Regions from separate parts of the Homo sapiens genome. Here all the other regions are linked to region 1. Evidence: promoter capture Hi-C in 16 types of primary human blood cells and fetal thymus (Javierre and others, 2016). All regions are on one chromosome and are shown on one strand. The core of a region is centred on a gene start or on the middle of the fragment in contact, and the rest is flanking DNA. Distances in the headings are between cores, read along the strand shown. Region 1 holds the start of METTL4 (methyltransferase 4, N6-adenosine). Region 2 overlaps LPIN2 (lipin 2). Region 3 holds the start of LOC124904236 (a long non-coding RNA gene). Region 4 overlaps LPIN2 (lipin 2). Region 5 overlaps LPIN2 (lipin 2).

What was found. The method cuts DNA at HindIII sites, captures the fragments that hold promoters and counts their contacts. A CHiCAGO score of 5 or more calls a contact.
Region 2: a contact is called between a fragment that was not itself captured here and the fragment with the promoter of METTL4 in region 1, in 2 of 17 cell types (neutrophils and total CD8 T cells). The highest score is 6.2, in neutrophils.
Region 3: a fragment that was not itself captured here is called in contact with the fragment with the promoter of METTL4 in region 1 in 5 of 17 cell types (naive CD8 T cells, naive CD4 T cells, non-activated CD4 T cells and 2 more); the score reaches 6.8 in naive CD8 T cells.
Region 4: a fragment that was not itself captured here is called in contact with the fragment with the promoter of METTL4 in region 1 in 3 of 17 cell types (total CD8 T cells, activated CD4 T cells and naive CD4 T cells); the score reaches 6.8 in total CD8 T cells.
Region 5: a contact is called between a fragment that was not itself captured here and the fragment with the promoter of METTL4 in region 1, in 1 of 17 cell types (naive CD4 T cells). The highest score is 5.5, in naive CD4 T cells.

Annotation. Positions count from the first base shown.
Region 1 is chr18:2,569,323-2,573,492 of GRCh38, reverse strand. METTL4 (methyltransferase 4, N6-adenosine) reads left to right here and starts at 1,988. Exons shown (of 9, transcript NM_022840.5): 1 at 1,988-2,344. It overlaps NDC80 (NDC80 kinetochore complex component), which reads right to left and starts at 1,936. Exons shown (of 17, transcript NM_006101.3): 1 at 1,810-1,936; 2 at 407-516. The coding sequence starts at 507. RefSeq lists enhancers at 1,931-2,090, 1,973-2,895. The HindIII fragment of the contact is 2,186 bases long and covers 49-2,234 here.
Region 2 is chr18:2,997,476-3,001,645 of GRCh38, reverse strand. All of the region lies in intron 1 of LPIN2 (lipin 2), which reads left to right. Among named protein-coding and RNA genes, the nearest start is that of LPIN2, 14 kb to the left of the region's middle. RefSeq lists enhancers at 1,778-2,700, 2,815-2,914, 3,182-3,331, 3,402-3,501. The HindIII fragment of the contact is 6,417 bases long and covers 1-4,170 here.
Region 3 is chr18:2,977,827-2,981,996 of GRCh38, reverse strand. All of the region lies in intron 1 of LPIN2 (lipin 2), which reads left to right. LOC124904236 (a long non-coding RNA gene) reads right to left here and starts at 3,642. Exons shown (of 2, transcript XR_007066268.1): 1 at 3,027-3,642. The HindIII fragment of the contact is 4,754 bases long and covers 19-4,170 here.
Region 4 is chr18:2,952,236-2,956,405 of GRCh38, reverse strand. It overlaps LPIN2 (lipin 2), which reads left to right. Exons shown (of 20, transcript NM_001375808.2): 3 at 1,807-1,902. Among named protein-coding and RNA genes, the nearest start is that of LPIN2-AS2, 13 kb to the left of the region's middle. The HindIII fragment of the contact is 871 bases long and covers 2,029-2,899 here.
Region 5 is chr18:2,927,032-2,931,201 of GRCh38, reverse strand. LPIN2 (lipin 2) reads left to right here. Exons shown (of 20, transcript NM_001375808.2): 10 at 2,044-2,137; 11 at 2,542-2,611; 12 at 3,391-3,480. Among named protein-coding and RNA genes, the nearest start is that of LPIN2-AS2, 38 kb to the left of the region's middle. The HindIII fragment of the contact is 686 bases long and covers 2,293-2,978 here.

The sequences.
Region 1 (4,170 bases), core at 739-3,238:
ATTATACCTTATGAGAGCAAATAATTTTGCTCTGATTTGATTGAAGCTTTGCTAATTGGAAATATCTCAGTGAACTCTAAGTTACAGCACAGAGCCTGCTTAAACAAGTAGCTCTAGAATAAAAGAGAAAAATAAGAGAGTACTGAACAAGAATTAACAGTCCTTTTAGGGGGTGCCTGGTAAAGCATTTGGCTTTGGAAATTTGTGAAACAAATGACACAAACAACACCTAGCAGAGTATCATGCCCACTTTTAGATTTCATTGATCCAAAATTAGGTACCCCTGGGAACAGACAAGATTCACCAAGACATCACTCATATTACATCTTTATATTAACTATTTCTTATGATTTCTTTGCCTAAGATGATAAAGCATGCAAATTAGAACCACAAGGGAAATACTCACGTTTGAGGGGTATAGAGGCCTTGTTTATTTACATCCTGGGATCTTAACTCCTGCATGGAGAGGCGGCCAGCACCACCGCTGGAAACTGAACTGCGCTTCATGCTTATGACCTACATTCACGAATTCAGTATTTAAAAAAAACTTTCCAGACAGAGATGGTACATTAAGCAACTATTTATCCTTAAACAGAAAGACAGTCAGGTTTCATTGTTTCTTCAAGATCATCATCTTTCCCCTGGGGTATCTCTTTTTTGTTCATGTACACTGAAGTTCTCATTTGCAAGGAACATCTATTTAATTCCATTTAAAAATATTCAACATAAACATTTATTAACTGCCCACTATATATATAGGGGAGTGTGCTAGGCAATGCAGGAGATGCAAAGACGAGTAAGTTACGGTTTTTGCCTTCACAAGGGTATCCGTGGTAGCTAAAGCCCTGTCTGTTACCCAGACCACATTACTGCTGTTGGCTGTGCCTATTTCAATAGGAAGACAAAAAAATTACCTCAAATTCTCTTATTCACCTCAAAATGTTTCCTTTTCTTTGGTTTCAGAGAATGGAATTATTCTGTTTTCCTAATGTCAATCTCTCCTGCTCTGTCCTTAACCCATTGTTTCCTCAATTACTGCCCTTTTGGCATCAATCTCCCCTTCAACAAGGATAAATCATCCGGTCCATAAAATGGTCTATAGGCTGCCTCCATTTACAAACCACATTAACAGGTCACTCCCTTCACATCTGCTAAAAAATTTGTCTCCTAGGATACACATGATTGACAAAACTTTTGATCCTGTCTCATCTCTGCACCCAGCCTTCTCAGGTCCTGCCCTGGCTTTCAGGAAGGTGACAATCCTTTTACTTCTCTGGGTACTCCTTAGTCTTTTACACTGATTAGACTCTTCTTGATTTTGGCCGCCTATTTCCTCTTCAATATGCGCTTGTTCATCTATTCAACTTTTCCACTCACACCTGTGTGTCCACGTTTAATCTCCACTTAGAATGTAGCTCTCATGATTTAAGATGAAGACTTCTACACGCAGTCCTACACGGCCATAAGAAGCTACACTAGTATTCAGACGCAACCCACCCAACGAGTCCTCTCTTGTCCATCTCTTTCCGCCCCCTTCAATTCTTCCCCGTTTCCTCTCCCGAGCCTCCACTCCTCATCAGTGTCCCCCAGGCCCTCCCCTTTCCTCCTTGGGAAATCGTTGCCACTAGAAATTTAATAGATCCCGTGAAACCAGCGCCTCGCACAGTTTTGGCCTCGAGGCTTCTCCCAACAGCAAACAAACACCAAAACATCGCCTCAGGACCTCTAAATTTAAGTCATTGGCGCCATCACTTTCTTCCTCCAGAACAGCTCTGCAGAAACAAAGTTAATCCGATGTCATTCAGTCACCTTTTTTCCAGTTTCCTGACACGACCCAGGGACCGAATTTCTGTAAACCGTGCAAGTATCTGCTAGACAGGACAGCGGTCATCAAAACACCAGGTCCTTCCTCGGCCCGCCAAAGCCGTTCGAATTTGAAATTCTCCGCCGGCGCTGACGTCATTACGCACGACGCGCGCAGTAACTTCCATGCGACCGCCTCGTCGCTGGAAGGCTGCGTGCTGGTCGCGCCCAGCTGCGTCACCCCAGGAACTGGGGTCTGTGGGCCAGTGTGGCCGTCTCTACGAAGACTGGCACGACCCCTAAAGTTAGGTCGGAAGACCTGTGGGCAGCTTGAGCGCCGAGGAGTGCCCTGAACGCTCAACTCGCCCTGGAAACGTTTTTCCGTACAGCAACATGGCGGCGCCCATGGACTCTTAGAAAAGGAGAAAGCTTTTTCTCTGTGGACTGGAAGGGGCATTTTTCATGATCACTATTTAGATGGGTGCTGTTTTCATGAGGAGAGTCTGGGAAGGCGGCGTCCGCTTTTCTGACAAGGGAAGAGGTGAGGTGGGAGAGGGGCTGCGGAGTGGGTGGAATGGGCTCCCAGGATTGCGTTGGTACGGCTGCCGAAATTCGGGCTCAGTATTTGATCACTTGCCGGAGGCTCACGGTCCTCTGGTGGTGGCTGACCTGTGAGAGGCTAGGAAGAATCCAAGTGTTTGGGGGCGGGCGGCGAGGGAGTGGATGTGAAGCAGAGACGCAGGAGAGGGGTGCACTAACAACAGTAACAGTAGATCACTTTGCTAAAATAGGATTTCCTCGCTGCTGTGAGTTTGAATCCAGAAACAGGCACTGCCCGGTACCTGGAGAGTGGTGGTGATGAAAGATCTCACAGCTCCAGGAAGTCTGGATACTTGGGTCTGGTAGCAATTGTGCCATTAACTAGCGTTGTTATTTTTGGGCAGCTTGCCTTTCTGCTCTGAGTTTCAATTTTCCCGTCTGAATTTCTAGCTCTCACTAGCCATTCCAGGACCCTTTTCACCTCAGCTGTGGCCTATGAAGGGGATGGGGAGGAACCAAGGATTATATTAATATAAAAATTATATGAAAATTAGGCAACCGTCTGATAATAAAAAGTCTCCTTGTGGAATACTGTTAGGTTAAACTTTACCTACAGATTGTTAAATCCTTAGCACTAATGTTTTCCCCAGAAAAGATTAATGGAAACATCATTTGCTTTTCTGACTAGATAGTTGCTGCTTCCAAAGGTGGTTTTACACAAATACAAAATTAAAAACACCTTTAGTACAGAAATAATTGCTTGTATTTCGGTATACATTCACAGTACAGTTCAGCATTTAGTGGTCCTGCTAGCAATTTGCCAGGAAGTCAAGCCTGCCAATTTCCTGATATTCCTGCTGTGCACCCCAACTTCTTAATCCCTGCTGAGGATCTTGAGAAGCAGCAGCACCAAAACCAAAGTAGGCACCAAATTCAAGGTTCTTTTGGTTCCGGTTGTCACATTTCAAGCTAGACTCCAATAGATGGAAGGATGATCACATGTGAGCCCTGTTTAAAACTTCAATTTTTAAGAGCAAGCACAATTGCAGGAAAAGAAAACAATTCAGAGGGATCATGTGTGCTTACAGTTGTCTTCATGTGGCCTTTTCCCAGGTTTAACCACCAAGGACCCTGACAGCCGGGGTGTCTGAATAACCCTGGTGACTCTTTTCACCATATCAAAACCTGAGTTAAAAGGCTGATGATAACAGCAGAAGGTGGCAGGGCTGAGGACCCACTATTAATTTCCTAGGCTGGTGGAGAGTGAATAAATGTTCTTCCAACCTTACCTTATGGCTTCTGGTCAAAGCAAAGAAGTGTCGTGGAAAGTGTTGGGTGGTGACAGTGCAAAAAGAGACTTGACGGGGAGGGAGCAGCATCTCTTGATAAAGGTGGGGAAGAGAAGATATGGGGAAAGCCCTGAATTCCTCATGGAAGGCGAATCTCAGAGGGGAGCGGAGCAGAGGGCTTATGATCTGTGCTTTGGCCAAGGGTGGGAGTGGAAGAGGTGGGGACAGGACAGTGGTTTGGAAGGAGCATCACTGAATACTTAAACTGAGTGCCCACACACTCAGCAGTGGTCCCACAGGCTGTGATCTTCACGTCTACTCTAACAAGCCTCCCAGGCTAGAGGGCTGTTGCAGTGGGTGGGGGTGGGAGGAAGGGAGAGCGGTAGGGGGAGAAGGCGGAGACTCCAGGCCATGTAAGGAGAAGCAAGGTGATTGTGTGGTCTTTCCACAGTTGAATTAGATGTACCCCACCAGTTATGATGGGAATCAATTTAAATATACTTGCTTGATCCTGTCGCTTGACAGGATGATTTGTTAT
Region 2 (4,170 bases), core at 1,227-3,726, 430 kb before region 1:
ATGCATACACTACTGTAGCTTGTTTTTTTCATTTTAGACCTTCTCTATTGATTTCCTACGCTGCAAGATGAAGGTTCATCTCTTATATAACCCTCCTCTCACACGCACAATTCTTTATACTAAGCTCTCAATACCATTTTCTAATTTTCTTAATATTCATTGTTTATATTTTCATGGCTAAATATTGCTTACAGCTGAGCATATGCAGTGATTTTTATTTCTTTGCCAGTTCAAATTTTTCTTTTCTCTGGAGTCAACAATTATTTTATTGGTTTACATTTCTTAGTACCAGTCACAAATTCAGGCCCCCAGTTTCTGATAGGACTACAGAACTCTGCAGTCAACACCTCACTCATCCTGAATCCCAGTAATTTTCTGTGTTGGATTCTGAGTCCTGGATTACACATTGTCTTCTCTCTTGGCATGCCTCCTCATTTTGATGGAGCACATCCTCTAGCAGCTTTTTGAGAAAGGGTTTACAGGGAGGAAATTCTTTGAGAGCTTACGTGTCTGAAAATGTCTTTATTTGAGCCTCCTACCCAACTGATAGGCTAGCTATAGAATGCTAGAATGGAAATAGTTTTCCTTTAGAATTGTTACTTTTGAGAAGTTACCTTTTTTTGAGAAGTCTCAAGTCTTTTTAATTTCTCTCTCTCTCCCTCCCTCTCCCCCCTCTTTTTCCCCATTTTCCTATCCTTTCCCCCCTACCCATTTTTTTTAGCACCTTTCTTTGTTTCTTTTTAAAGTATCTCATTACCATCTCTTGATGAAGCACCTTGGTTTGGGATTTGCCATCTCAGTTTTTGGACGAGACACAGTCTCTTAGGAGGGAACACGGGAAGTACCCACCTTACCTGGCTTCACAGTGAATCCTTACCCCTGGCCTTGTTTCGTTACTTAGACCTGGCTAGCAGGCCCTATGTCACCAGAGTCTCCGCAGGCCAGAGGGCATAAAAACACCCAGAGACTGTAGTGGGTATTTATCAATCCTGGTGAGGCCTCTCCCCACAGGTAGAATCATCTGTAGCTGTGTACACTCATGATGTTGGGGAAGTAGCTGGCACTACGTGCCGTACATCTGATGGAGGGCATGGTGTGTATCCTGCTTTGTGTAGTCGTGCCCATATGGTGATTTTGGAATCCTTTGTGTAGCCTTTAACGTTGTCTATTATTAGCATGTTTCTGTCGTGACTGCCATAGGTGGAGCCCACAACAGTGCAGGTGTTTCTTTATCCTTTGAGCTGGGCACCTGGTGGGAACTTTCAATTTGGAAAATCATGTTTCTGACGCCAGGAAATTTCTTGTATGATTTATTTGATAATATCCAACTCCTGCCTTTCCCTACCTTTTTTTCCTCTCCTGTTTCTGTACTTTAAAAAGTCTACAAGTCAGATATTGGGGCCATTTTGGATTGATGCTCTGATATTCATCTTTTTCCTCCTTTTGCCCATTCCTTTATCCTTGTTGGATTTACTGGGAGATCTGCTTTCTACATTTTCTCCTTCTCCTCCTCCTCCTCCTCCTCCTTCTTCCCCTCCTTCCCCTCTTTCCCCTCTTCCTCCTTCTCCTCTTCCTCCTCCTCCTCCTCTTCTTCTTTTTAAAAGAAAAAAAAAAACAAAACAGAGATAGGGTCTCACTAATGTTGCCCAAGTTGGTCTTGAACTTCCAGCCTTAAGTGATCCTCCCACCTCAGCCTCCTGAAGTGCTGGGATTACAGGTGAGACCCACCGTGCCTGGCTATTTTTTAATTTTTGTAGAGACAGGGTCTTGCTGTGTTTCCCAGGCTGGTATTTATTCTCCAACCCTTCTATAGAATGTCTTAATTTTACAATTGTGTGTTAATTTCCAAGAGCGCTTTCTCATTCTTGGATGTTTATTTTTATTAGCGTCCTCTCCTAGCTGCTGGTGGGTTGCTGGCAGCCTTTGGCGTTCCTTGGCTTGCAGATGCATCACCCCAATCTCTGCCTTTATATTCACATGGCGTTCTTCTGTGTGCATGTCTGTCTCTCTGTCCAGATTTCCTCTTTTTTTTTTTTCTTTTTGAGACGGAGTTTCTCTCTGTCACCCAGGCTGGAGTGCAGTGGCGTGATCTTGGCTCACTGCAAGCTCCGCCTCCCGGGCCATGCCATTCTCCTGCCTCAGCCTCCTGAGTAGCTGGGACTACAGGCGCCTGCAACCGCGCCCGGCTAATTTTTTTTTTTTTTTGTATTTTTAGTAGAGACGGGGTTTCACCATGTTAGCCAGAATGGTCTCGATCTCCTGACCTCGTGATCCGCCCGCTTTGGCCTCCCAGAGTGCTGGGATTACAGGCGTGGGCCACGGCGCCTGGACCAGATTTCCTCTTTTTATAAGGACATCAGTCCTACTGGATTAGGGCCAGCCTTAATGACCTCGTTTTAACTTGAATACCTCTGTAAAGATCCCCTTTCCAAATAAGGTCACATTCTGAGCTACCAGAGGTTAGGAGTTCAGCGTTTCTTTTTTGGAGGATATACTTCAACCCAAACAGTGGGTTTTGAGAGTGGGGATAACACATGTGACATCCTCTGGGTTTAACAGGATGTCTAGTTAGAGCAATATTTTTAAAGATGCTTTTAGTTACACCTATCTTCACTAATGATCAGAAAGAAACTCTTAGGAAGTAATTTTTAGATTACAACTGGAGATTTTTGTTCAGACTTGTGACTGCCAAAATTTCTGCATGTTCCTGAATGTTTAATGACAGTATCTGAGTTGTCTCATTTTCACTCTTGGTTTGTTTCTAAAGTCATTTGAAGGTTGGCAAAATGACTAAAGAAAGAACAGCAGTAGTGTCTTATGAGAAAGTAAACCGTATCTATATCCTGGCATAGTTTCGTGAACATGTTAGCCAGGTTCTCATCATGCTCTGTCCCTCCATGTTATACTCTATTTCTTTTTTCAGATATGAGCCTTCTTGGAGCTTTGTTGCTTAAAAAAAAATCTGTCATGTATTTTCCTGTTCTGGGCTCTACAACGCTTTTCTTTCCTTAAAAGTGGCTCTTCCTGCTCTTCCTCCCTCTCTTCAGGGAGCAGCACCCTCTTTTATTTCCTTTATAATAGTTGTCCCAGCCTAACATATGTTGTTGTTGTTGTTTTCTCCCTCCCCACATTAGAATATAACCACTACAAGGGCAGGTACCTTGTCAGCCAAGTTCACTGCTTGATCCCCAGCTCTCAGAATAGAATAGACACTGCTGTTGAGCAGATCAGTGAGTGAAAGAGGCCTTGTTTTCTGACTTTCAAGTGCTGTTTCGCTGACTTGCTGTTGCTCTTGGAAGTCCTTCTCTCTTGTTGAAGTAGCTTAGTATGCAAGTCAGCTTGTGATAACACACTGGTGCAGCCTTACTTGGCATTTGTTTTGCAAAACTACTTAAAAATAGCCTAAATCTGAGTGATTGGTGGCATTGATTGCAGCAGTGCTGTTGGTATGGCCACAGCCTTTCCCTTTACCCAAGTGTCCTCCCAGAGCCAGGAAAGGGAGGTACCTCTCCTTACGTTTCTGAAGATTCCATTGTGGTCCCAGTGGGCACCATGCAGAATTTAATAAAGCAGGGCATGAAACTTGAGCTGTGTTTTGATTGACATTGGGAAAGACTCCTCTGCAGAACACAGGCACAGGGTGCCTGGAGCTGCCTGGCACTGGAAACTCTGCCTCACGGTCACCATGTTCTGTTTAACTGAGACAAGGAGACACTTCAGGCACTTCCAAAGGAAACAGTAGGGAAGTAGTGAATTCATGCTTACCGATCTAGCAGACTTCCCTCTGGGAAGCTGGGGGACTGCATCCTTGAGAGCTAAAAGCAAGAAATTGGAGATGTTTGAAAAACTAAGTCTGTGGCATGGGGGGTAAGGAATCCTCCTGCTACTTCTGTGACATCAGCTAAGTAAGCTGATGAATTGGTGACTTTTTGTTTCTTTTTGAGTTATACTGCTTTTAGTAATTATGGAAGAGCCTGCTCTCCCCCCACAGGAGTCATTAAACAATGATTGATGCCATATGTAAGGTTTGTGAATTGTTTATGCAGCAGAAGTCACCTTTTGATCAGAATTGGGGCACTGTCTTGGTTTCATTGTGGCACACTGCAGAGTTATAGGCATAGTGGCCTGGTACTCTGATGATGTCTTGAAAGTGACTGCTATAGCTTTGAC
Region 3 (4,170 bases), core at 1,146-3,645, 410 kb before region 1:
ACTCTACCTGTGGAAGCTTTCCTTTAAAAATAATAGGAAGGAAACACTATTTTCAAGGTTATTTTTTAAAATTAAGGATGGATATTTTTATGAAAACAAGCATAAAATCAGTGAGACAAAAATTAGTTTCTAAAATCTGTGGCTCATAACTTGATTTTAGTTTTAAGGTTATACAAATGTTTATTATCTTTAAAAATGTTATCACACTCTGCTTTTTGCTTTTGGATCTGTTAGTGAAAGTGTACTTACTCAGAGTTCTCAGGAACTAATGGAAAGACGTGGTTTGAATATGAATGGAAGAGTCAGGTGCTACCACGGGGGAGGCAGTTTGCTTTTGAAATCAACATTGTAATATTATAGAATGTATACACATATTGGCTCACTCACATTTGTTGTAAAGGTCAGAAGGGAGAATAGAGAACCTTGCTGACTTTTTACGAAATACTTTAAACATTCATATATTAAGTAGCACTAACACACATAAACTCTCCCTCACAGGAAGTTCTTAAGACTTGTGTCTGCTGGTGTTTTCCAGAAAGAGGTCAAGAGGTGTTTGCTTAGGCTGCATTTTATTAACGGTCCCATTTTATGTTGCCGTTAGAACATTGAAGTCTAATGAGTCACCTCCCTGTCCCATGAGAAGCATGAGTTTTCTTAATGCTAACGTTTGGGATAAGGATCTGATATCTGCTTAGTAGCCTGTAATGATTATATAGGAGTTTGACTTTATAACCTGGGTGTGTGTGGTTAGAGGGAGAACCCTGGTTTTCAGGGTCCAGGCCTTCTGTGACCTGAACACTCCTTACAAATCACATCCTTTCTGGGCACCCCTTTTGTAAGGTGACAGTTTCAGTTTTGAAAGAGTCTTTCCTCATGGTTTTGTGATTTGGGAATATAAATGTATCATATCATGATTTGGAAAACCATGAGAAGATTTCTGTGCTTTGTTAGAAATTGGGAAATTTCAAAGACCATGTTTTCATATTTTTTGAAACAAGTGAAGACAATACCTTTATTTGCTAAGGAAAAAGCTAAATTATTTTATATTCAAATAACCTGAAGTCCCAGAATAATCTACTGGCCATATTTTCACCCCATTTAGGGCAGAATATACTACAGGAGTTCTTAGCCAAACTTGTAATCCTCAGAAATGCTTATAGAATTGGAGCTTTTCTGCAGTTTAGAGCTGGGGGGGGACTCTAGAGGTCACCTGACCATTCTTGTTAGAGAGAACCCCCGGCACAGAGCCCAGACCTCTTCTCCAGCGGAAGCGAGACTTGATCTTGAGTCTTCACATCCTCACCAGCTTCAGGGGACTCCAGGAAGCCCTGAGGGCAGTGTCCCTCAATTCTCATCTCTGTGAGCTATTTATCAAAGGACATGGGCACCTCTGGTTGATGCCAAAAAGCTCAACCAGATTTAATAACACAAACAGTGGTCAGAGGTGGCAAGTCACCCTGTAGGTGGGGCACATGATACGAGGCAGCGTGCATCATGCTAAGTTAGGAAACCTTAGTCCACCCAGGATTTGGGGTGGGGCTGAGGTTGGTGGTGGGGAACCATAACACGTTGTCATTACTGATTGCTGCCCAGATTCCTAGAACAACTGGAGGTGAACAAGTCTAAAACTAACTGTGTTCCTCCAGTCTAGCATGGCCAGTGTTCAAAAAAGTAATTATTTAATTGAGTGGAATTTTATTTCCTCATAGAAATAATGTTGCTATGCCTGTCTCATAATTAGCCAGAGAACTCAACCAGAGTTCTGAGTCCTAGAACAAGGGGGAAGAAGGGCTAATGCAAGAATTTCCTCTTTCTTTCTGGATAAGGGCCAAGTTTCGCTAAAATTTTTGAGACAAACATTTTCTGAGTTCCATTTTCAAGCCATGTTTTAGCTCCCACTCTCCATAGCTAGTAACTTTGGGCTTGAAAATGATACCTTTCCTCCCTCCTAACTCCCCTAAGTTTTAGGAGTGTTTGTGCTCTTGCCACTGAGCTGTGAATGGGTGATGGTTCCTTAAGCGCAGCAGAAGTAGCTGCATTGGAGGAAGAGGATTCTAGTAAACCTACAGGTGTGCTTTGGTAGGCTCACTAGCCAAGTGACAGTGTGCACTGAAATGAAAACTCTGAGGCCTGCTAAGAGGATATATTGAGGGACCATACAAGATTACTGGTTAGGCAGTTTGGGGGAGTAAATTCTCTGAAAGTCTTTGTTTTCAAAGCATGCTCGCCACAGATGAACTCAGGAATTTGGGGGGGAGTAGTTTTGGGACTGTGGACATGAATATGTTTCGGCTATTTGAAAATTATTTATTATTCATTTTTATATTTGTGCCCCCATCTGTTTTCAGTAAGGAAGGATTTAGAAGTAGTTTACAATTAAAACATACATGCACACAGACTGCCTCCACACACACTGTATATTGCATAGCTAAGCCTATTAATGTAGAGGAAACAAAATTGTCTTCATTTAGCAAATATTTATTGTACTACAACTGAGTCCAGTAGATGCATGTAAATCAATTTTTTTTTGTTTGCCTCCACTAATATGTCGGAATTTTTTGCTGCTCTGGGTTTATGAATAACACAGCTGGGCAGATATCCAGCAAATGGCTGTATGAATGCTACCATGTTGAGTTTGCCTGGATACTTGGTCCTGATTACATACTCAGCATACTCAGTGCGTTAGAGTGCCTGGTGAGCCCTGTTTTGTAGATGTGATCCAGGTGTAGTCTTCGTGCATTGGGAAAACACACCTTAGTTACATCACTGTGCCTTTAGGTGTCCCAAAAAGTGAGGCTGCTGGCCTGGCCTAGAGGAGATGGACACAACTCTGAAAGGATCTAAATAAAAATCTCAGTTGGGCATGGTGGCTCACACCTGTAATCCTGCACTTTGGGAGGCCCAGGCAGGTAGATCACTTGAGGCCAGGAAGTGAGGCAGGAAAGGAACAGGAACTACTACACCACCCTTCTTCAGCTCTGTTCACTGTCAAGAAAACAAGAGGGTTTGGGAGTCATTCCACCTACCTGTGGTCCTGAGGCACAGCTTGAGATGTGCTACATTCTGGGATCATTTGGAGGCTTTCAAAAGTACTTGCAGTAGAATCTGCAGATGGGGTGGCCTGATCATGAGGATTCCCCAAGCACCTCAGTGACTGCAACGTGCACCGGGGGTGAGAAGTGAGCCCCAAGGACGATGATGCCCACATCTGACTCATCACTGAGTGAATCCCTGTGGAGCTTTCAAAAGAAAATACAGATTTCCCAGACAGACTGAAGCAGAATTGAAGGCAGTAGTGGAGGCCAAGAATAACTGTTTTGTTTTGTTTTGAAAATGAAACTACAGACTTTATTCAGATTCTTCTTACTAATGTCCTTTTTCTGTTCCAGAGCCCAACCTTACCTTGAATTGTCCTGTCTCCTTAGTCTCTTCCAATCGTGACAGTTCTTTAGTCTTTGCTTCTCATGACCTTGATGTTTTGATGAGCACTGGTCAGATATTTTGTTGAATTTGTCTCTACTTCGGTTTGTCTGATGTTGTCTCATAATTAGATTGAGGTTGTGTGTTTTTGGTCAAAATACCTCAAAAGTCCTTTTCAGTGAGTCATACCAGGAGTCCCTGAGGTCAGTGTGTCTTAAGTTTTCCCGATCACTTGATTATGGTGGTGTCTTCCAGGTTTCTCTACTATAGAGTTAAAATTTTTTCCTTTTGTAATGAATGTGTATCTTGGGGAAAATACTTTGAGAATATCCAGACATCTTGTTTATCTTGTTTCTCCTTCAACTTTTTTTTTTATTTTTTATTTTTTAAAAGACAGAGTCTTGCTCTGTCGCCCAGGCTGGAGTGCAGTGGCGCAGTCTTGGCTCACTTCAGCCTCCGCCTCCTGACTTCAAGCAGTTCTCCTGCCTCAGCCTCCTGAGTAGCTGGGACTACAGGTGCCACCACTCCCGGCTTCTTTTTGTGTTTTTAGTAGAGATGGTTTCATCATGTTGATCAGGCTGGTCTTGAACTCTTGACCTCAGGTGATCCACCTTCCTTGGCCTCCCAAAGTGCTGGGATTACAGGTGTAAACCACCGAGCCCGGCCTCTCCTCAAACTTTGTCTTCTGTTTTTAACATCCATTGATGGATCTTGCCTTCCATAAATAATACTGTGATATATTCCAATAGT
Region 4 (4,170 bases), core at 1,215-3,714, 380 kb before region 1:
CATTGCTTCTAGGCAGCCCAAGCTGGCAGAGCCAGGAAATGGGTGGATGTGTGCACGTGTACACACACACACACACACACACACACACACACACCCCTGCATCTATATATGAAAATCATGAGGGCACACGGGTTCCTCCAATTCCCATCCACCATCGCAGGCTTCTTTCCCCCTCCTTATTTATAATTTTTTTCTCTTTCAACAGGAAACATGGTTCTGATTATCGTCAGTATATCTGCTTAGTTACTCAATCCTAGGAAACACAAAATAGTTTCAGAATTGCTAACTCAAATCTCTGTGAATGTATTAACTACTGCACAATGTTTGTTTGGAGTAACATATCAAATATGTCTTTAGACTTATAATACAAGTCAAAATACTGTTTCCAAGGTAAGGTTAGTTCCATTCTTCCTCACTTCAGTGTGGTTATGTTATTCATACATAGGAGGTTTTTTTGTTTGTTTTTGTTTTGTTTTGTTTGTTTTTCTTTTTGAGAGAGTTTCGCTTTTGTTGCCCAGGCTGGAGTGCAATGGCGTGATCTCGGCTCACTGCAGCCTCCGCCTCCTGGGTTCAAGCGATTCTCCTGCCTCAGCCTCCCGAGTAGCTGGGATTACAGGCGGGCGCCACCATGCCCAGCCGATTTTGTATTTTTGGTAGAGGCGGGGTTTCACCATGTTGGTCAGGTTGGTCTCGAACTCTTGACCTCAGGTGACCTGCCCACCTTGGTCTCCCAAAGTACTGGGATTACAAGCATGAGCCACTGCACCCGGCCCATACATAGGAGTTTTATAACAAGCATTTTGACAAAATATGTTGATAAGGTTTGGATGTCCCCTCCAAGTCTCATGTTGAAATGTGAACTCCAGTGTTAGAGGTGAGCCTGGTGGGAGGTGTTTGGATCATGGGGGCAGATCCCTCATGGATGGCTTAGCACCATCCACTTGGGGATGAATGAGTTTTTGCTGAGTTGACAAGATCCAATTGTTTTAAAAGTGTGTGGCACCTTTGTGTGGCACCCCCAGTCTCTTGCACCTGCTCTCACTATGTGACGTGTCTGCCCCCACTTCGCCTTTCACCGTGAGTAAAGGTTTCCTGAGTCCTCCCCAGAAACCAAGCAGATGCCAACGCCGTGCTTGTACAGCCTGCAGAACCATGAGCCAGTTAAACCTCTTTTCTTTATAAATTGCCCAGCCTTGTGTATTTCTTTATAGCAAACACAAAAATGGCCCAACGCATATGTCTACCTGAATTTTTTTTTGACATGATATTACTTATCCCATCGTTTCACCTGGTTCTTGGGAAAATGGAACCGCCATCATCAGTGACCAATCACAGCACTGATTGTCACCTGTTACTTACGTAGTGATCTGTGGGCAGAAGAGCTGTCGGTGAAGTTGTACTTGATGCAGTTGCTCACAGCTCACATACTGAGGTTCCTGAAACTTGTGTGTATCTGAACCGTGTGAGGTGAGGCCTGCCTGTGCCATAACTTGGAAAGTGTGCAAATGTTTGACAATAATATTTCCCCCATTTTAAATTTGAAAAATAATTTTAAAATTTTTATATGTTGTAAAAATAGATGGTGAAACACTTTCTTTCAATTCCTGGTTGTCCATCTCTCCCTCTGCCAGCTCCATTTGGCTTCTTAGGGGTTGGGTAGGGGCAAGTAGCAGTGTTTCTCAGAGGCTGTAGTTCTAGGAACCTCAAAACTATGCTAAGTTTGACTTGAGAACTCAGAGTTCTGGTTTAGTTTAACTTGAAGGAAAGACTCCTTGAACATTAAGTCATACTTTGTTTCTCCCATAGATTGATATAGAAATCAACGGCAGTGCAGTGGATCTTCACATGAAGTTGGGTGATAACGGAGAAGCTTTCTTTGTTGAGGAGACTGAAGAAGAATATGTAAGTTTGCATGGGTTACACCCTCCTTACACAGTGTGCTCAGGCCTCTGGTACGTGGCCCAGACGGACCGTTTAGCAGTTTTTTATGGTTGATTGTACAGAGGACTGTTGTTGGCAAGACAAGCTTTAGTTTCATGTTGAAGAACTAAGCTGTCAAAAAGGAACTGAAGGGATGAGGAATTTTTCTCCATACAAAGTTTCAGGGTGCAGGGAGCATGCTGAATGCACATACTTGCACTTTTTCTAAGGGAAGGCACATCACTTTCTAGCTTTAATGAGCTTTCTTACTTAGTGTTGCTTCTGGTTCACATATTGACTTGAATACATTCAGTTCTGCCTGAGTAGGGCATTTCTCTTCTGGCTATGTGTTTATCCACATGTGCCCTTTGGACTGGGACTCATGTTTACCATTTTGGTTGGGATATTACATCCCTCACCTTGAGTAGTCAGGTGAATTAATTTATTATGATCTCAAGAGAGTTAAATTAATTGGCCTATATCCTTTTATAAGTGATTACATGTTTGACTTCTTCTAGCAAACGAGCATGATTTGTTAAAATCCCCCCTCCCCAGCACACACATTCTGTATGTACTGATTTGAACGCTAGTTAACGACGGATTCTTGATGGATTCAATGTGGATCTTTTTATTTATTTATTTATTAATAATAGATTTTACATTCTCACTAAAGAACTCAGATCACGTAATGTGCATCTTTTTAAAAATTCTTTCAAAGGCATCAGTACATCATTCTTCATAAAGAATAAAGTCTCAAATAGCAAAACTGATAAGCATCAAGTTATTAAGGATACAGGACTACTTTTTTGGCTTTGAAGATGAACTTACAGTTTGATACAATAAATTTACAAAGAAAATTATTACCAAAAAATACGATAGCAAAATGAGATTGTTTATCATTTTTTGATTGAGAAACCAACAACTTAGGTACCAGTAGGTAAAGCAGCATTGAAACACTATGATTTATGAAGGGGAAGCTTGATCAGACTGGTGCTTTTTCTAGTTTCTTCATTACTTATCTTTGTAATACCTTGTTTGCATTTACTTGGCCTAAGCAACATTTTTCCTTATCAGAGACAGAGGCAAAGAGCAGAATGAAACATAATAAATGACATCTGTCAAAAAAAAAAACCACTTTTTGTATGTTTCTTAAAATTATTTATAATTCATAACACTGAACTTCTAGATCAGCAGGCACCGTAAGCGAGAGGACTGGGTTATTGATGTTAACCTCGTTTTCATGGCTTATTCTGACAGTTCCGCTAAAAATTATGCTCAGCAAGGACAACTTGGAAAATGTCAACTTTCCAGCCTTTTTCTCCCTATTCCACATATGACTACATTGACCAGAGTTTATCTTGTGTAGTATGCTTCTCCTTAAAATAAAAAATTGTTAATTTATCCAACAAATGTTGGAATTACTACTCTATGCCACATGCTATGAATACAACATGCCTCTGTTCCTCTAGGGGTTCGTCATTTAGAGTAGGATAAAGATGACCAAAAACCCAGTTTGTTGCCATTTATTTGATTTTTTTCTCTCAGATTTTTCTCATTTAATTATATGTCATCAACATTCTTTTCAAGTCTAGTTCTAAACCTAACTCTGTGCTTTTAATAGCTGCACAGTATTCCATAGTATGGACATACCATAGTTTGTTTAACCATTTTCTTGCTGGTAGGCGTTCAGGTTATCTTCATCCTACAAACATTGCTATAATAGAACTAAGAAATACCACCAGAAACAAAAAGAGCTTTCAGTAAGTAAAATAAAGATCATTGAATTAAAAATCCTCAAAGTCAGAGACCACGACCTCTCATCTGGGTTTCTTTTGGACATTCAGAATATCTTATTACAATTTCTCTGTAAGTGTGTGTTTCTGGTGAACACAGATTTCTCCTAGCTAAATCAAACTTTAGCTTCAGGGTAATATGTTTATCAAAGCTAAGTTCAAAAGCTTAATAAAAAAATAATTACAGAAACCTATACATTTTCAGAACTATTGTTTAAAAGCTTGAGTATTTTAAATTATATGAGGTTAATTTTTTTGTTGTTTGTTTTGAGATGGAGTCTCGCTCTGTTGCCCAGGCTGGAGTGCAGTGGCATGATCTCGGCTCACTACAACCTCCCCCTCAGGTCCAAGCAATTCTTCTGCCTCAGCCTCCTGAGTAGCTGGGATTACAGGCATGCATCACCAGGCCCAGCTAATTTTGTATTTTTAGTAGAGACAGGGTTTCACCATGTTAGCC
Region 5 (4,170 bases), core at 1,386-3,885, 360 kb before region 1:
TTGGTTAAAACTTACCGTGTAGCCATTTCAGGATATTTACATTCTTTAGGGATCTTGTGCAGGTAACAGGTATGTTCTGTAATGTCAGACCCTTATACCCTCACTTAAGGTCTTAATTGACACCTCTTTATGGAGTGGCTTTGAGGTAGTGTGCCCTTAAAGGCTCTAATTTCAAATTAAGAGGTTGGGAGTTATCAGGCCGCCCTGTTTTCTGAGCTGCCAGGGTGCGATCATCACACTGCACCAGTTTTCTCATCTGTAAAGTTACAGAAACATTTGTGGAACTGGGGCCCAGCTGCCCTTCTGGAAAGCACTGGGCCTTAGACATGAATATAGGGCCCTGAAGTTGTAGAAAATTGATTGTCCACTGAGTACGTGGTCTTTCTGGCAAAAATTAGGAGGATTACTTTCTGTATAAGGCTGGAGGGTTGGCCTACGAGAGTAAAGCTTGCTCAGGAATCAGGAGGGAGTTTAGCAGACATGTCAGGATGCCTATAGGCTGGGCTGAGTGCCATGTGCATCCGTCCTCAATTCATCAGCATTTTTTTTTAACCTTCCTTTTAAAACTGAACTCTTAGTATTTCTCAGTTTGGCCTGTGGCCCCTGTATGATTTTCTTCTAAGGGAAAATTTTCTTTCCGTGACTAGTGTCATCTTTTGTCTTCCCTCTCCCTTAGAGGAACTGAAGGTGTGATGTGGCAGACTGCATGGCCAGAGGCTCAGGACCATGTGTTCCTGAAGTCTTTCCTTTCCAGGGTCACAGGAAGCTCATTATGCCTCTTCCCTGTCTCTTCATTGTTTGTTTGCTTTATATTTTGCAAGAAATTTAAAGTGTGTTATGGCCAATGGTTCATTCTAGGGACTAAGTTAAATAGGTCACATTCTTTCTGTAATCCTCTTAAATGTTCAGTTTAAAAAATTATATGCGAGGGAATGCGAAATACAAAATGTAGGTAAAATATAAAAGTTACACCTTTGTTTTAAATATTGGTGACTTAGTCTAGTAGAGTTTATTGGAAGAGGCAGAAATGACAAGTAAATGTAAGTAATACACACATTACCTGGAGAAACAATCCAAGTGAGCAGTTTCTCTGTTAGCCTAGATCTAGGAGAATACAGGTTTAGGAACAGGGTACAAAAATTCATGGGAAGCCCTCATTCACTCTGCAAGAACTTGGGATTTATTTCACAGACCTTGAGCCAAATTCTAGGTTTTTTTGTTTTGCCTTGTTTTGTTTTTTTAATTCTCCAAGCAATTGTAACATGTAATTTTTGTTGTTGTTTTTATTATTTAAGACAGAGCCTTGCTCTGTCACCCAGGCTGGAGTGCAGTGGCACCATCTCAGCTCACTGCAACCTCCATCTCCTGGGTTCAAGTGATTGTCACGCCTGCCTCAGCCTCCCAAGTAGCTGGAATTACAGGTTGGCACCACCATACCCGCCTTATTTTTGTATTTTTAGTAGAGATGGGTTTTCACCGTATTGGCCAGGCTAGTCCCTAACTCCTGACCTCAAGTGATCGGCCCACATCGGCCTCCCAGAGTGTTGGAATTATAGGTGTGAGCCACTGTGCCTGGCCCAAACAATTTTAAGATATGTTTTGATATAATGTAGCTTGCTAAAGCTGTAAGACCCCTATGAATATTCCCCAGTTATGCCGTTGCCTGTCAGTAAAGTTTCTTCCTCTGAGAATAGAACTTCGACAGTTTTCGTGTGTGTGTGTCTGTCTGTCTTTCTGTGTCTGTCTTCCGTCCCTCTCTAGCCACATCTGTATGTATTTTTTTTGAAAGTCTCTGTCATGTCCCTTTTTACTAGTTTGTTTGTTTTCACTGGGAGACAGTGGAAAAGGAGAATAGAAAAGAAGTGTTCTTTCTTGTCCTGGGGAAAAAAAGCGTCTGACATTTTGCTTTTGATGAATATTCAAAAATTAGTTTTTTTAGACAGATGATTTTAGCCTTCAATTTCTGCAATGCAGAGAGTATTATAATCTCATATAGGGATTTATGTAATCTCTAACCAAATTGATTATTATTTTACATTGCAGAAAAATTCATGGAGCATATCATTACTTATCACGAATTTGCAGAAAACCCTGGACTTATAGACAATCCTAACCTTGTAATAAGGATATATAATCGGTAAATACTCCTGCTTTTATAATTGTTAAATACTCTTGCAGTTTTTTTACAAGTGCCATTTTTAACTGTTACTTATAAAAGTGTTCCTTCTTATAAAACTTGTCATCTCATATAAATTAGCCAGTGGGCAATGACTTTGAAGTGAAAGTAAAGCTTCAATTTTATTTTTAAAAGAAGCATTGAAATGTTACTCTGTTTGATAGATTTTACGGCTTCTCTGTTCAGAGAAGTTGTGCTTGAAGCGAAGGTTATTCATGTGACAAAAAATTCAGCTGATCATCTTTATTGAAAAGAATAAGCAATTTTATATGTCACTTCCCTCCTCCCTCCCTCCCTGATTCCCTCCCCTCTCTCTTGCTCACTTTCACTGTGTAATGGTTTTGCACAATTTTTGTTTCTCACAGTTACTATAACTGGGCTTTGGCAGCTCCCATGATCCTTAGCTTGCAAGTATTCCAGAAGAGCTTGCCTAAGGTGAGGCGATCCACCATCTGCTGCCTTTCCGAAAGCATCCGCAGTGTCTAGTACTTACACAAATCCATATGTGCATATTTCTGAACTGGGTACTATTCAAAGTTTTACTTGAGCTTAATATTTAATATAAAAGATCAAAGTCATATGTACCCACTAAAAATATCTCATGCCCAAACTCTGGGAAATTAGCAGGGCTGCCACTTCTTTATTTCATTTTTATTAGACATAAATACTAGTTTCTGATGGTCTGTAAAAGTTGAGAGATTTTACTAATCATAAGTTAAATATGGAATGAATGAAAAAAACTTTTTCTCCCATTAATATGGGAAGAAGCAGCAAGAAGAAGGTGATGTAGCCAAGAGAAGCTTGACATCAGTGTGGTTAGGGCAGATGGTGGCTAACATACCTGTTATATACAAACTCACAATTGGTTTTTAATCTGTCCCCCAAGAAGACATCATCAGCCTAGTTGGTCCTCTTAACTCATGAGAACCACATTTTCCAAAGATAGATAAATGAGATTTGCCCACCTGTCAGCCCCTAAGGTCCTACATAGCAGACCGCCTGGTCTCATGCCACAGAGCTGTGCTGCCATGAAAGCAGGACGGGGTCTGTCTCTCAGAGGTGTTAAAAACGCTAGAGGAATCTGGGAGGTGTGAAGAGAGCATCGGTCACGTTCTCACATTCCATAGTAAGGCCCCGTCCTTCAGGCTAGCATAGAAGGTAGGTGCTGTGTGGCCAGTAGATTGCCCAGACTAACCCAGGTTGGTTGTTTTCAGGCCACAGTTGAGTCCTGGGTGAAAGACAAGATGCCAAAGAAATCTGGTCGCTGGTGGTTTTGGCGAAAGAGAGAAAGCATGACCAAACAGGTAACAGACCTAGAGGTCATTGTTTCCGTGGGCTGAAAGAAATGAATCTTTCATTTATTCAAAAAACCTTTTTGTCAGGCACAGGAATTTGGACTGTATAGGGCTATTTTACCATATAGCAGTTTCCATTTTTGAGCACTTAGGACGTGCAGGTGTTGTCCCAAGTGGTCCTTTACTGTAGCTCAGCACTAGAGATGTTCGAGTTGCCATTTCACAGGTAAGGAAACTTGGGTGCTTCACGAAGTCACATAACTGGTGAGAGACGGAGCTGGGGCAAGACCTTGAGTCTGACTCCAGAGCCTGTGCTCTTTCTGCTTCACTGTATTACCTATCAGATAGGAGCAGAAGGTTATCGTCTGCCTGCATAGTTCCAGATGCAAATAACCAGAATCTGTTCCACCAGGTCTCCATAGAAATTCATCCAGAGAACCATACTAAACAAGCAGCAGAGCAAGTCTTTTTTTCCCCAACACCTTCTGAAAAAGAGGGTTCAGGGAGTTCTCACCTGTTTTTCAAATGTCAGAAGGGAAGTCTTGCCTGAACCAAGTTCATGTCCACGTCAGCAAGGGGGCTGCCTTTCAGTCCCTTCTGCACGTGGTGAGTTACTCCCAGGAGGAGAAGGAAGCTGGGGACCTAACAAGTTTGGGTCGCTTGTATTATGTTTTGTGACTTGAAATGGTGCTCTTAAAA